Linked DNA regions of Homo sapiens: all the other regions are linked to region 1. The links are contacts of gene promoters, found by promoter capture Hi-C in blood cells and fetal thymus (Javierre and others, 2016). All regions are on one chromosome and are shown on one strand. Each heading gives the region's core, a stretch centred on a gene start or on the middle of the fragment in contact. The rest is flanking DNA. Distances are from core to core; before and after follow the strand shown. Region 1 holds the start of APEX2 (apurinic/apyrimidinic endodeoxyribonuclease 2). Region 2 has its middle 14 kb from the start of GNL3L. Region 3 has its middle 100 kb from the start of GNL3L. Region 4 has its middle 120 kb from the start of GNL3L.

Region 1 (2,931 bases), core at 182-2,681:
TTCTATCCATAAAAATTATATTTCATGTAATTTACTATTATGCAGCTTTAGCTCTGTAAACTAAATGTCTAAGATTTCTTATTACCCTCTCATCAAATATTGGAAACCCTTTTCCCCTATCTGCCTCCCTCACTAATTTAAAGTCCACAGAAAGCCCCATTTACCAGAATAGCCGCTACGGTTGCGGCTGAAGCTGAAATAGGAGTTATAACCCTCAACGATAGCCAGGGGCTCTGTCAGTGCATCCCCTGGAAAAAAAAAATGTAAGATTAAGTCAGAGGTAAAACTAGCATCCGAGAAACACAAAGGCCTGGAATTACAGTTGTAGGCTAATTCCTTGCACACATCAGAGCCAGAGTTGGGGGTGACGGGAATGAAATATCCATGATTAGAGGAGGACCTAGAAAGATGGGAAATGTCAGAGAGGAAATTGATATCAGAATTAGAAGGCTTGGTGGGGGGCGGTTAGAGACTATGAAGTGGAGGTGGAGAATTAGGTGGGAAGGGGAAAGAATCAGAGCTAAGCCTGGGGGTCTGAACGATAGGAGGAAGCTGGGGATGGGGATGGACATACGAGAGGATGGTGGGAATCTGAGCTAAGGGTGAGAGGTAAGAGAGAGGGAATTAGGGGATCTGAACTGGGGGTGGAGGGAAAAGGAATTAGGGGATTCTGAGGGGAGATAAGAGGGTGAAGAAATAAGAGGACATCTAAGCTTGGGGTGGGAAATGAGGTGGGAATTAGGGACTTTCCGCTGGGAGGAGAGATGGGAATAGATAAGGGGTACTGGGGTTCTGAGGTGGAAATGTGAAAAAGAGGAAATTAGACTGAGCTGGGGTCAAAGATGGGGTGGGAATTAGAGGATCTGAGCTTGGGGCAGGGATGAAGAATTCGGGGGTTTGACTTGGCGGCGGGGAGATGGACAGCGTATGGAAGGAGGAAATTCAGGGGACTGAGTTTGGGGCCGGAGAATGAGTGGGAATCTGACTAGATATGGGGTTTCGAGAAGGAGCTAAAGTTTGCTGAAGACAGGAGATGGAGTGCAATTAGGGGATCTAGCTAGGGTGGGAAATGGAAGTTTAAGAGGGAAGGGACCTGGGTCTAAGGACAGGACTCTAAGAATAGGAAACTGGGAAAGTAAAATTACATGGGACAGGGGACAAAAGTTAGCGGGAAAGAAAAAGTATGTAGGGATCCTGGAATCCAGAGCGCTCACTGGTCACTTTGGTTTCCTGGAGACAGACGATATCCGCATCCAGCTCGTCCAAAATGCGCCCCACGGCCACGGCGGCACAGTTGCTGGGTTCCTGATTTGCCACCCCTTGCAGGGGTCTCCGAATCCCATTGATGTTCCAGCTCACCACGCGCAACATCTTAAAGGGCTGGAACACCTCCCAGCCCGCGCCAACCTAGGCGCGAGCGAACTGCTTCCTGTTCAGAAGTTGGCCAGGCCCGCCTCCCGCGCGCGTTTGCGCAGGCGTTCTCGTGCGTACCACTAAAGCGCCTGACGCACGTCGGGCGGGGGCTTCAACTTCCTCAGCTCTCATTGGCGGGAGGAGGAACTGGGTGGACGCTGAAGGAAGCAAAGCGGAAGCCTAGGGGCAATGAATGGCGAGAGGAGTTTCCAGTTGGGCTCCCGCTCCTTCCGCTCGGACAGCTGAGTCTCAATGCGTTTTTCCTCTACTCAGAAGTCCAAGTGGTGCGTCCGGTTACTTACAAACGGCATTTTGCCACTTTTTAAGCGACGGAACCCTGAGCGGAACTGCTCAGCTGCCAAAGCCCCGCCCTCAGTGCGGCGGACCGCCCACCTAAGTTCACAGATGGCTGCAGCGCTTGCGCCCCAGGAATAGCTGGCGCTAAGTGCTCGCGTTGGACTGGGCAAAGGGAAGTTCATGGTTGGAGGAGGGAGCAGTAAGAGTCGCTCCACTGAGATAAGACTTAGGAGGAGGGCCTTTGGCTTTATTGGGGCAGAGGGGAGGAGGAGGAGGCTGTCTCAAGCCTGCCCTGTAGCTTTTGTCTTGGCTCTTAACATTCTGAAGGATGTAGCCGGACACATCCTTACTCTTGGTTCTGTTTCTCAGATAAGTGAAATCGAAGCCCAGGAAATGTAAGCTCGTGAGCAGCATTGTCTCCGGATGCATCCATGGCTCTTCTGTATATGTTATCTCATTTCATTCTCAAGACAACCCAGTTCGGGACATGGAGGCTAAGTTAGAGACGTCGAATGAATTCATTTCATTCTCACAGTTCACTCTCTCTTACACTGAAGTAGTAGAGCCAGGATTCACACCCTGTCTTAATTAGCTCAATAATTACTTTTCTGAGTGTTTTTACTGACCACACACCTCCCCAGTTAAGTCTTTTCCTCTGGGGCCCCACGGCACCCTATGGTCCATTCTGTCACAGTACTTATAATACACAGCTATCATTGACTTCTATTTCTGCTGCCATTAGAATGCCAGCAACTTGAGAGCAATGACCATGTCTGGTTCATCTTGTTAGCCCCATCCCCTAATACTGGACACAGCATATGTTGGGAAGCAATAGATATTTGTCAGGTGAATGAATGAACAAAGGATAATAGCAAGAGCATCGACAGGTTCATGGCTTGTTTTTGAGAGCACAAAAATTAGAAGTAATGGATATGCCCAATGTCCAGGGAAAAGCATAACGATGCATCTTTAGGTTCCTCACCCAGAATTGCAGCATAATTATTTGTTCCCCAGAATTTAAGTCTTAGAGCCATCATCCTCAATGGTTACAGCAAAGACGCAGTAAACTGCTTTTCCTCCTGGAGGACTTAAAAGGTTACCAGTTGTTGCTATCAGAAAATAGCTCTGTGATTAAAATAAAAATTTGCATGTCCTGAGCTTCTTCATGCTTTGGGAGTTATTGACTCAGGATTGACTCCCATGAGTGCGATAACTAGGACA
Region 2 (2,931 bases), core at 160-2,659, 480 kb after region 1:
TGAGAACATATTCAGACTAGCCTCCTGGAGAGATGTGAGAGACAAGTAGAAATGAGCTTGGTCATCCCAGACAGTGTGTCCTATAGCAGCCAACCAACCTCCAGCCAAGCCACCAACTGGGTGCAGACACATAAGCTAGCCCAGTTGAGATTAACACAGCCTAGTCCAGATCATAGAACCTCCCAGCTGACCCATAGACTCTGTCTGAGTTTTGGTACATAATTATTCACTTTGGTTTACAACACAGCATTATTGTGGCAGTAGTCCCCCATCATCGTTCTTTCTTTTCAGAGATATGCTGGCTATGCTTGCTTGTTATTTTTCCATATGAACTTAGAATCAGCTTGTCTAGTTTCAGAAAAAAAAAAAATGATATGCTTTTTTTTGAAACAGAGTCTCGCTCTGTCGCCCAGGCTGGAGTGCAGTGGTGCGATCTCGGCTCTCTGCAACCTCTGCCTGCTGGCTTCAAGCGATTCTTCTTCCTCAGCCTCCCAAGTAGCTGGAATTACAGGCGCCCACCACCACACCCAGCTAATTTTTGTATTTTTAGTACACACAGGGTTTCGCCATATTGGCCAGGCTGGTCTCGAACTCCTGACCTCGTGATCTGCCCACCTCGGCCTCCCAAAGTGCTGGAATTACAGGCGTGAGCCACCGTGCGCAGCCAAAAAATGATAATGGGCTTATACTAAATTTATAAATTAATTTGACATCTTTATGATTTTAAGTCTTCCCATCTGAGAACGTGGCATGCCTTTCCATTAGTTCCTTCAGAGTGTTATGAATGTTTCTCATTAAGGTTTTAGACATTTCTTGTTAAGGTTGTTTATAGGTATTTTATCTTTTTTGTTGCTCTAATAAATGGAGCCTTCTCTTCCATATATCTTCTAACTGAATGATTTCTATATATTAATTTTATATCCTGCTACCTTACAGAATTCTCTTGTTTGTAGTAGTTTCTCTATTGGTTTGTTTGGGTTTTGTGGCTGTACAATCTGATCATCTATAAATGGTGATAGCTTTACTTCTTCCATTTCAATTGTATATTTAATTTATTTCTCTTTTCTAATTGTAATGATTACTACCTCCAATGCAATTTTTTTTTGTTTTTTTGTTTTTAAGACAGAGTCTCTCTCTCTCACCCAGGCCACAGGGCAGTAGCACGATCTTGGCTCACTGCAACCTCCACTTCCCAGGCTCAAGTGATTCTCATGCCCCAGCCTCCTGAGTAGCTGGGATTACAGGTGTGCACTACCACACCCAGCTAATTTTTGTAACTTTAGTAGAGATGGGGTTTTACCATGTTGGCCAGGCTGGTCTCAAACTCCTGGCCTCAAGCAATCCACCTGCCCTGGCCTGCCAAAGTGCTAGGACTACAGGCGTGAGCCACAGTGCCCAGACAACCTCCAATAAAATGCTAAATTGTAGTGGAGAGAGTAGGTACCCTTAGTTGGTTTCTGATTTTAGCATATAAATACTGGTGGTATTTCCTGGTTAAGTGAAATGCTGGATTTGGGGGATCTATCTATCTATAGAGAATGAGATAAAATATATATCAGGGAAGAAACCACATATTCCTCTTTTATTGAATGTTTTTATAAAGAATGGGTATTGATACCAAAGTTACTGAAGGAGAAGAAAAATAAAAGAATGGGTGTTGAGTTTTGACAAACAACTCTTTGGTATCTCTGAATAAAATGATAGGATTTTTTTACTTAGATCTAATAATAGGTTAGATTATATTAATGGATTTCCTAATATTGAACAATTCTTGCATTCCTGCAATTAAAACCCACACAGTCATGGATTCTATTTGTTAATATTTAGGATATTGTGCCGATATTCCTAAGTGAGAATTAGTCTATATGGTTTTCTTTTTCTTGTGGAATCTTTGTCAGATCTTGGTATCAGTGTTATTATTCACTTGATAAAAACATTTCTAAAGTGTTCCTTCCTTAGGCTCAGGAAAATAAGAATAGTATTTGAATTATCTGCTTTTTAGTGTGAAAAGACTTCCCCTTGTGAAAGGATCTTGCTCTATCTGGTGCTTTGAGGAATTGGGGAGCTCTTTATAACTTTGTCTATTTCCATGAAAATTGAGCTACAAGGCCAGGCGCGGTGGCTCACGCCTGTAATCCCAAAACTTTGGGAGGCTGAGGCGGGTGGATCACATGAGGTTGGGAGCTCAAGACCAGCCTGACCAACACGGAGAAACCCTGTCTCTATTAAAAATACAAAATTATCCAGGCTTGGTGGTGCATGCCTATAATCCCAGCTACTCGGGAAGCTGAGGCAGGAGAATCGCTTGAATCCGGGAGGCAGGGGTTGCGGTGAGCCGAGATCGTGCCATTGCACTCCAGCCTGGGCAACAAGAGCGAAATGCCATCTCAAAAAAAAAAAAGAAAGAAAGAAAAGAAAATTGATCTACATGGACTTGTCTTTTAGGGTCAGTTTGTAAATTATATTTTCCTAGGACATTATCCATTTCTTCAGTTCTTTGAACAATTTCTATAGAGTTGTGTTTTGTGATATTTAAAATGTCTTCTTACTATAGTTATGTGCAACTTTTCATTTATTTTGTATATTTGTGCTTTCTCCTTTTCCTGATTATGTTATCTAATAGCTTATATAATTCTTTTTTACAGAATCAACCCACTCATTTATTAGTCCTACTGTTATCTATTTTCTAACTCCTTTATTTTAACTTTTATTTTTGTTAATTCATTCCTTCTGCTTCCCTGTATTTGTTTTGTCTTTCTCTAACTTTTTCAATCTGATGCTTATTCATTTAGTTTTTTTGTTTGTAATGTAAGTATTTTAAGGCTATGAACTTTCCGCTGACCACTGCTTTAGCTGTATCCATGGATTCTGATACGGAATGTTTTTATTGCCATTATTGTCTAGAAATTCAGCAATTTTGGTTTGTTTTTT
Region 3 (2,931 bases), core at 151-2,650, 370 kb after region 1:
CAAATGCTGAGAGAATTTGCCACTACTAAGCAAGCACTGCAAGAACTGCTATAAGGAGTTCTAAATCTTGAAACCAAACCTCAAAATACACCAAAAATAGAACCTCCTTAAAGCATAAATCTCACAGGGCCTATAAAACAATAACACAATGGAAAAACAAACAAGATATTCGGGCAACAACAGCATGATGAATAGAATAGTACCTCACATCTCAATACTAACATTGAATGTAAATGGCCTAGATGCTCCACTTAAAAGATACAGAATGGCAGAATGGATAAGAATTCACCTATCAAGTACCTGCTGTCTTCAAGAGACTCACCTAACACATAAGGTTTCACATAAACTTAAGGTAAAGGGTTGGAAAAAGATATTCCATGCAAAAGAACACCAAAAGCGAGCAGGAGTAGCTATTCTTATATCAGACAAAACAGACTTTAAAGCAAAAACAGTTAAAAAAGACAAAGAGGGACATTACATAATGATAAAAGGACTAGTCCAACAGGAAAATATCACAATCCCAAATATATATGCACTTTTATATATAAGTGCTCCCAAATTTATAAAACAATTACTACTAGACCTAGTAGTATTTGTTAGATACTACTAGATAAGAAATGAGATAGATGGCAACATAGTAATAGTGAGGGACTTTGATACTCCACTGACAGCACTAGACAGGTCATCAAGACAGAAAGTCAACAAAGAAAAAATGTACTTTAACTATACCCTTGAACAAATGGATTTAACAGATATTTACAGAACATTCTACCCAACAACTTTAGAATACACATTCTATTCATCAGCACATGAAACATTCTCCAAGATAGACCATATGATAGGCCACAAAACAAGTCTCAATACATTTAAGAAAATTGAAATTAGGCTAGGAGAGGTGGCTCATGCCTGTAATCCCAGCACTTTAGAAGGCTGAGGCGGGTGGATCGCCTGAGGTCAGGAGTTAGAGACCAGCCTGGCTAACATGGTGAAACCCCATCTCTATTAAAAATATAAAAATTAGCCGGGAGTGGTGATGGACGCCTGTAATCCCAGCTACTCAGGAGGCTGAGGCAGGATAATCACTTGAACCCAGGAGGCAGAGGTTACAGTGAGCCAATATTGTGCCCTGCACTCCAGCCTGGGTGACAAAGTGACACTCTGTCTCAAAAAAGAAAGAGAGAGAGAGAGAGAAAAGAAAGAAAGAAAGAAAGAAAGAGAAAGAAAGAAAGGGAAAGAAAGGGAAAGAAAGAGAAAGAAAGAAAGAAAGAAAGAAAGAAAGAAAAAGAAAGAAAGGAAGGAAGGAAGGAAGGAAGGAAGGAAGGAAGGAAAGAAGGAGAAAAGAAAACAAAAGAAAATCGAAATTATACCAAGTACTCTCTCAGACTACAGTGGAACAAAATTGGAAATCAACTCCAAAAAGAACCCTCAAAACCATGCAAATACATGGAAATTAAATAATCTGCTCCTAAATGATCTTTGAGTCAACAATGAAATCAAGATGGAAATTAAAATGTTCTTTGAACTGAACAATAATAGTGACACAACCTATCAAAACCTCTGGGACATGGCAAAAGTGGTGCTAAGAGGAAAGTTCATAGCATTAAATGCCTACATCAAAAAGTCAGAAAAAGCACAAATAGATAAGCTAAGGTCACACCTCAAGGAACTACAGAAACAAGAACAAACCAAACCCAAACCCAGCAGAAGAAAAGAAGTAAGAAAGATCAGAGCAGAACTAAATAAAATTTTAACAAAAAAATACAAAAGATAAATGAAACAAAAAGCTGGTTCTTTGAAAAGATAAACAAAATTGATAGACCATTAATGAGATTCACCGAGAAAAGAAGACAGAAGATCCAAATAAGCTCAATTGGAAATGAAAAGGGAGATATTACAACTGATACCACAAAAATACAAAAGATCATTCAAGGCTACTATGAACACCTTTACATGCACAAACTAGAAAACTTAGAGGAAATGGATAAATACCTGGAAACATACAACCCTTCTAGATTAAACCAGGAAGAAATATAAACTCTGAATAGACTGATAACAAGCAGTGAGATTGAAATGAAAATAAAAAATTGCCAACAAAAAAAAGTAGAGGACCAAATGCATTCACAGCTGAATTCGATCAGACAGTCAAAGAATTGGTACCAATCCTACTGAAACTATTGCAAAAGATAGAGTAAAGGAAATCCTCCCTAAATCATTCTATGAAGCCAGTATCACCCTAATACCAAAACCAGGAGAGGACATAACCAAAAAAGAAAACTACAGACCAATATCCCTGATGAACATAGATGCAAAAATTCTTGACAAAATACTAGCTAACCAAATCCAACAGCATATCAAAAAGATAATCCACCATGATCAAGTGGGTTTTATACCAGGAATGCAGGGATAGTTTAATATATACAAGTCAATAAATGTAATACACATAAAGAGAATTAAAAACAAAAATCACATGATCATCTCAATAAACACAGAAAAAGCATTTGACAAAATCCAGCATCCCTTTATTATTAAAACCTCAGCACAATCGGCATACAAGGGACATACCTTAGTGTAATAAAAGTCATCTATGACAAACCCACAGCCCACATTACACTGAATGGGGAAAAGTTGAAAGCATTCTCTCTGAGAACTGGAACAAGGCAAGGATGCTCACTTTCACCACTTCTATTCAACATAGTACTTGAAGTCCTAGCCAGAGCAATCAGACAAGAGAAAGAAATAAAGGACATCCAAATTGATAAAAAGGAAGTCAAACTGTCACTGTTCACTGATGATATGATCCTATACTTAGAAAACCCTAAAGATTCCTCCAGAAAGCTTCTAGATCTGATAAATGAATTCAGTAAAGTTTCAGGATACAAAAGCAACATACACAAATCAGTAGCCCTACTATACACCAACAGTAACCAAGCT
Region 4 (2,931 bases), core at 274-2,773, 350 kb after region 1:
GTCTTTCAAGTTTATTTGGAGCCCCAGAGCACTTTAGCATGTGGTGGTGAGGCTTGCCAGAACTCAAGTTCTGACTGCTGGGAATGGGCAATTCCCCTCTGGCTAGGACTGGTTTAAATACTCCCTCTGTGGGTGGGCATCAGCTGAGTGCAGCCTGGTTTTGCTTTCTGCTATGAAAAGGCAGCACTGAGTTCCCTGCAATGTCTCACAATTGCTGCACTCACCCTCTCCCAAGTGCTCAGATTCTCTCTTCATGCCATGCACCAGCTGCCAAGGGATGGGGGATAAGTGGCAGCAGCAATTCAAGACTCTTTCCTACCCTCTTCCATGCCTCTTTCAGTGACGTGATGTTAAAATCGAGTACTGTGAGTACTCACCTGAAAAGTACTGAAAGTACTGAAAGTACTTTGTTTGCATAGATAATTGTTAAATCATGTCCTTGTATGGGGGACTATTGGTGGAGCCTTCTATTCTGCCATCTTGTACTGTCCCTCTTCTTTTCTTCTTTTTTAATGTAGGTATTTATAAACTTACCTCTTAGTATAGGTTTTGCTGCATCCTATAAGCTTTGGTATGTTGTATTTTTGTTTGTTTCAAGATATTTTCTAATTTGGATCTCTTCTTTGACCCATTGGTTTTTCAAAAATGTGCTGTTTAGTTTCCACATATTTGTGAATTTTCCAGATTTCCCACTGCTACTGAGTTGTAATTTCCTTCCACTATTGTCAGAAAAGATATTTGGTATGATAACAATCTTCTTAAAGTTGTTAAGACCCATCTTGTGACAAACATGTACTCCATCTTGGAGAATGTTGTATTTATATGTAAGAATTATAATTTCTTTAAAAATGAAACATACACCTACCATATAAACAAGCCATTCTACTCCTTGGAATTTATTCAAGAGAAATAACCAAATGTCCACAAAATGTCCACCAAATGTCCACTTGTTCATAACAGCTGTGTTTGTAATAATCAAAAGCTAGAAACAACCTAAATATCAATCCACAAGTGAATGGGTAAACAAATTTGGTATGGTCATACAATGGAATACTATTCAGTAATATGTAGAAATGAATTATTTATACACACAACAAACTCAATTAATCTCAAAATATTTATACTGAATGAAAAAATCCAGATTATAAAACTCTAGAAAATGCAAACTAGTCTATTGTAACAGAAAACAAATTAATAAACCTTGGGAAAGTGTAGTAGAGCAAGAGGAAAGATTTACAAAGGGAAATAAGAAATTTTGAGAAATAATAATTATGTTCTTTATCTTTTTTTTTTTTTTAGATGAAATCTGGCTCTGTCGCACAGGCTGGAGTGCAGTGGCACGATCTCAGCTCACTGCAACCTCCACCTCCTGGGTTCAAGCGATTTTCGTGCCTCAGTCTCCCAAGTAGCTGGGACTACAGGCACCTGCCACCATGCCTGGCTAATTTTTGTATTTTTAGTAGAGACGGGTTTTCACCATGTTGGCCAGGCTTGTCTCAAACTCCTGACCTCAGGTGATCCACACCCCTCGGCCTCCAAAGTGCTGGGATTACAGGTGTGAGCCACTGCGCCCAGCATAATTATGTTCTTTATCTTAAATATAGTGATTGTCTTATGATATATATATTAAAACTGATGAAATTGCACATTTTAAATGGGTGCAGTTAAATGTATGTAAATAATACTTCAATAAAGCTGTTTTTAAAATAAACGATGTTAACAAATAACAAATAAGTAAGAACTCTTAGTCCAACACAGAAGGAGCTTGGAAGTTGTTGCCTCTGTCCTCACAATAAGAAAAAATCTGAACAAGCTGAAACTAAACAACTCTTCTTAGGTCTATCAAGGCATTGAGGTCACAGGGCAAACTGCTACTCCAAAAATTGGAGCTATAAGCAAATACAGAAAATCACAGCTTACTGGAGCAGAAGCCTACCACTGGAACCAGTACCAAGTTACTTTTATCCATTGCATCATGTCTAGCTTTAAACAAAAAAATTACAAGGCATACTAAAAAATAAAACACAGTTTGAAGGGACAGAGTGAGCATCAGAACCTGACTTAGATATGGCAGATATTTTGAAATTATCAGATCAGGACTTTAGATTAACTACTGTTAATATGCTAAGGGCTCTAATGGAAAAAGTGGACAATATGCAAAAATGGATAGGTGAAGCAAGCAGGCAGATGGACACTCTAAGAAAAAAAATCAAAAGGAAATGCTAGAAATCAGAAACACCATAAGAGAAATAAAGAATTCCTTTGATGGGCACATCAATAGACTGGACCTAGCCAAGGAAAGAATCAGTGAGCTTGAAGATATGCCAATATAAATTTCCAAGATGGAAATACAAAGAGAAAAAGGAATTAGAAAAATGAAACAAAATATCCAAGAACTGTGGGACAATTACAAAAAGGGTAACATATGCATATTGGGAATACCAAAAGGCAAATAGAGAAAGAGACAAACTAAAGCTTTGAAGTAATAATGATTGAGAATTTTTCAAAATTAATAACATATATTCAACCATAGACACAGGAAGACACTGTAAAGAAAATGAAACAAAAGCCACAGACTAGGAAAAAATACTTGCAAAATACTTCTAATAAAGAACTTACATCCAAAATATACAAAGAACTCTTAAAACTCAACTATAAAAAAAAGGAAGCAATTAAAATTGGGACAAAAGATCTGAAGAGATGACTCACCAAGAAAGATACACAGATGGCAAACAAGCATATGAAAAAATGCTCAACATCATATGTCATCAGAGAAATGCAAATTAAAACAATGAGGCCGGGCGCGGTGGCTCACGCCTGTAATCCCAACACTTTGGGAGGCAGAGGCAGGAGGATCACTTGAGGCCAGGAGTTCAAGACCAGCCTTGCCAACATGGCAAAACCCTGTTTCTACTAAAAATACAAAAATTA

What was found. The method cuts DNA at HindIII sites, captures the fragments that hold promoters and counts their contacts. A CHiCAGO score of 5 or more calls a contact.
Region 2: a fragment that was not itself captured here is called in contact with the fragment with the promoter of APEX2 in region 1 in 1 of 17 cell types (monocytes); the score reaches 6.5 in monocytes.
Region 3: a fragment that was not itself captured here is called in contact with the fragment with the promoter of APEX2 in region 1 in 1 of 17 cell types (monocytes); the score reaches 5.1 in monocytes.
Region 4: a fragment that was not itself captured here is called in contact with the fragment with the promoter of APEX2 in region 1 in 1 of 17 cell types (monocytes); the score reaches 9.0 in monocytes.

Annotation. Positions count from the first base shown.
Region 1 is chrX:54,998,863-55,001,793 of GRCh38, reverse strand. APEX2 (apurinic/apyrimidinic endodeoxyribonuclease 2) reads right to left here and starts at 1,431. Exons shown (of 6, transcript NM_014481.4): 1 at 1,215-1,431; 2 at 165-248. The coding sequence starts at 1,371. RefSeq lists a silencer at 1,411-1,550. The HindIII fragment of the contact is 4,396 bases long and covers 716-2,931 here.
Region 2 is chrX:54,515,066-54,517,996 of GRCh38, reverse strand. No RefSeq gene overlaps it. Among named protein-coding and RNA genes, the nearest start is that of GNL3L, 14 kb to the left of the region's middle. The HindIII fragment of the contact is 7,138 bases long and covers 1-2,931 here.
Region 3 is chrX:54,629,060-54,631,990 of GRCh38, reverse strand. It overlaps a transcript of GNL3L not described here. Among named protein-coding and RNA genes, the nearest start is that of GNL3L, 100 kb to the right of the region's middle. The HindIII fragment of the contact is 2,875 bases long and covers 1-2,837 here.
Region 4 is chrX:54,647,616-54,650,546 of GRCh38, reverse strand. No RefSeq gene overlaps it. Among named protein-coding and RNA genes, the nearest start is that of GNL3L, 120 kb to the right of the region's middle. The HindIII fragment of the contact is 1,909 bases long and covers 569-2,477 here.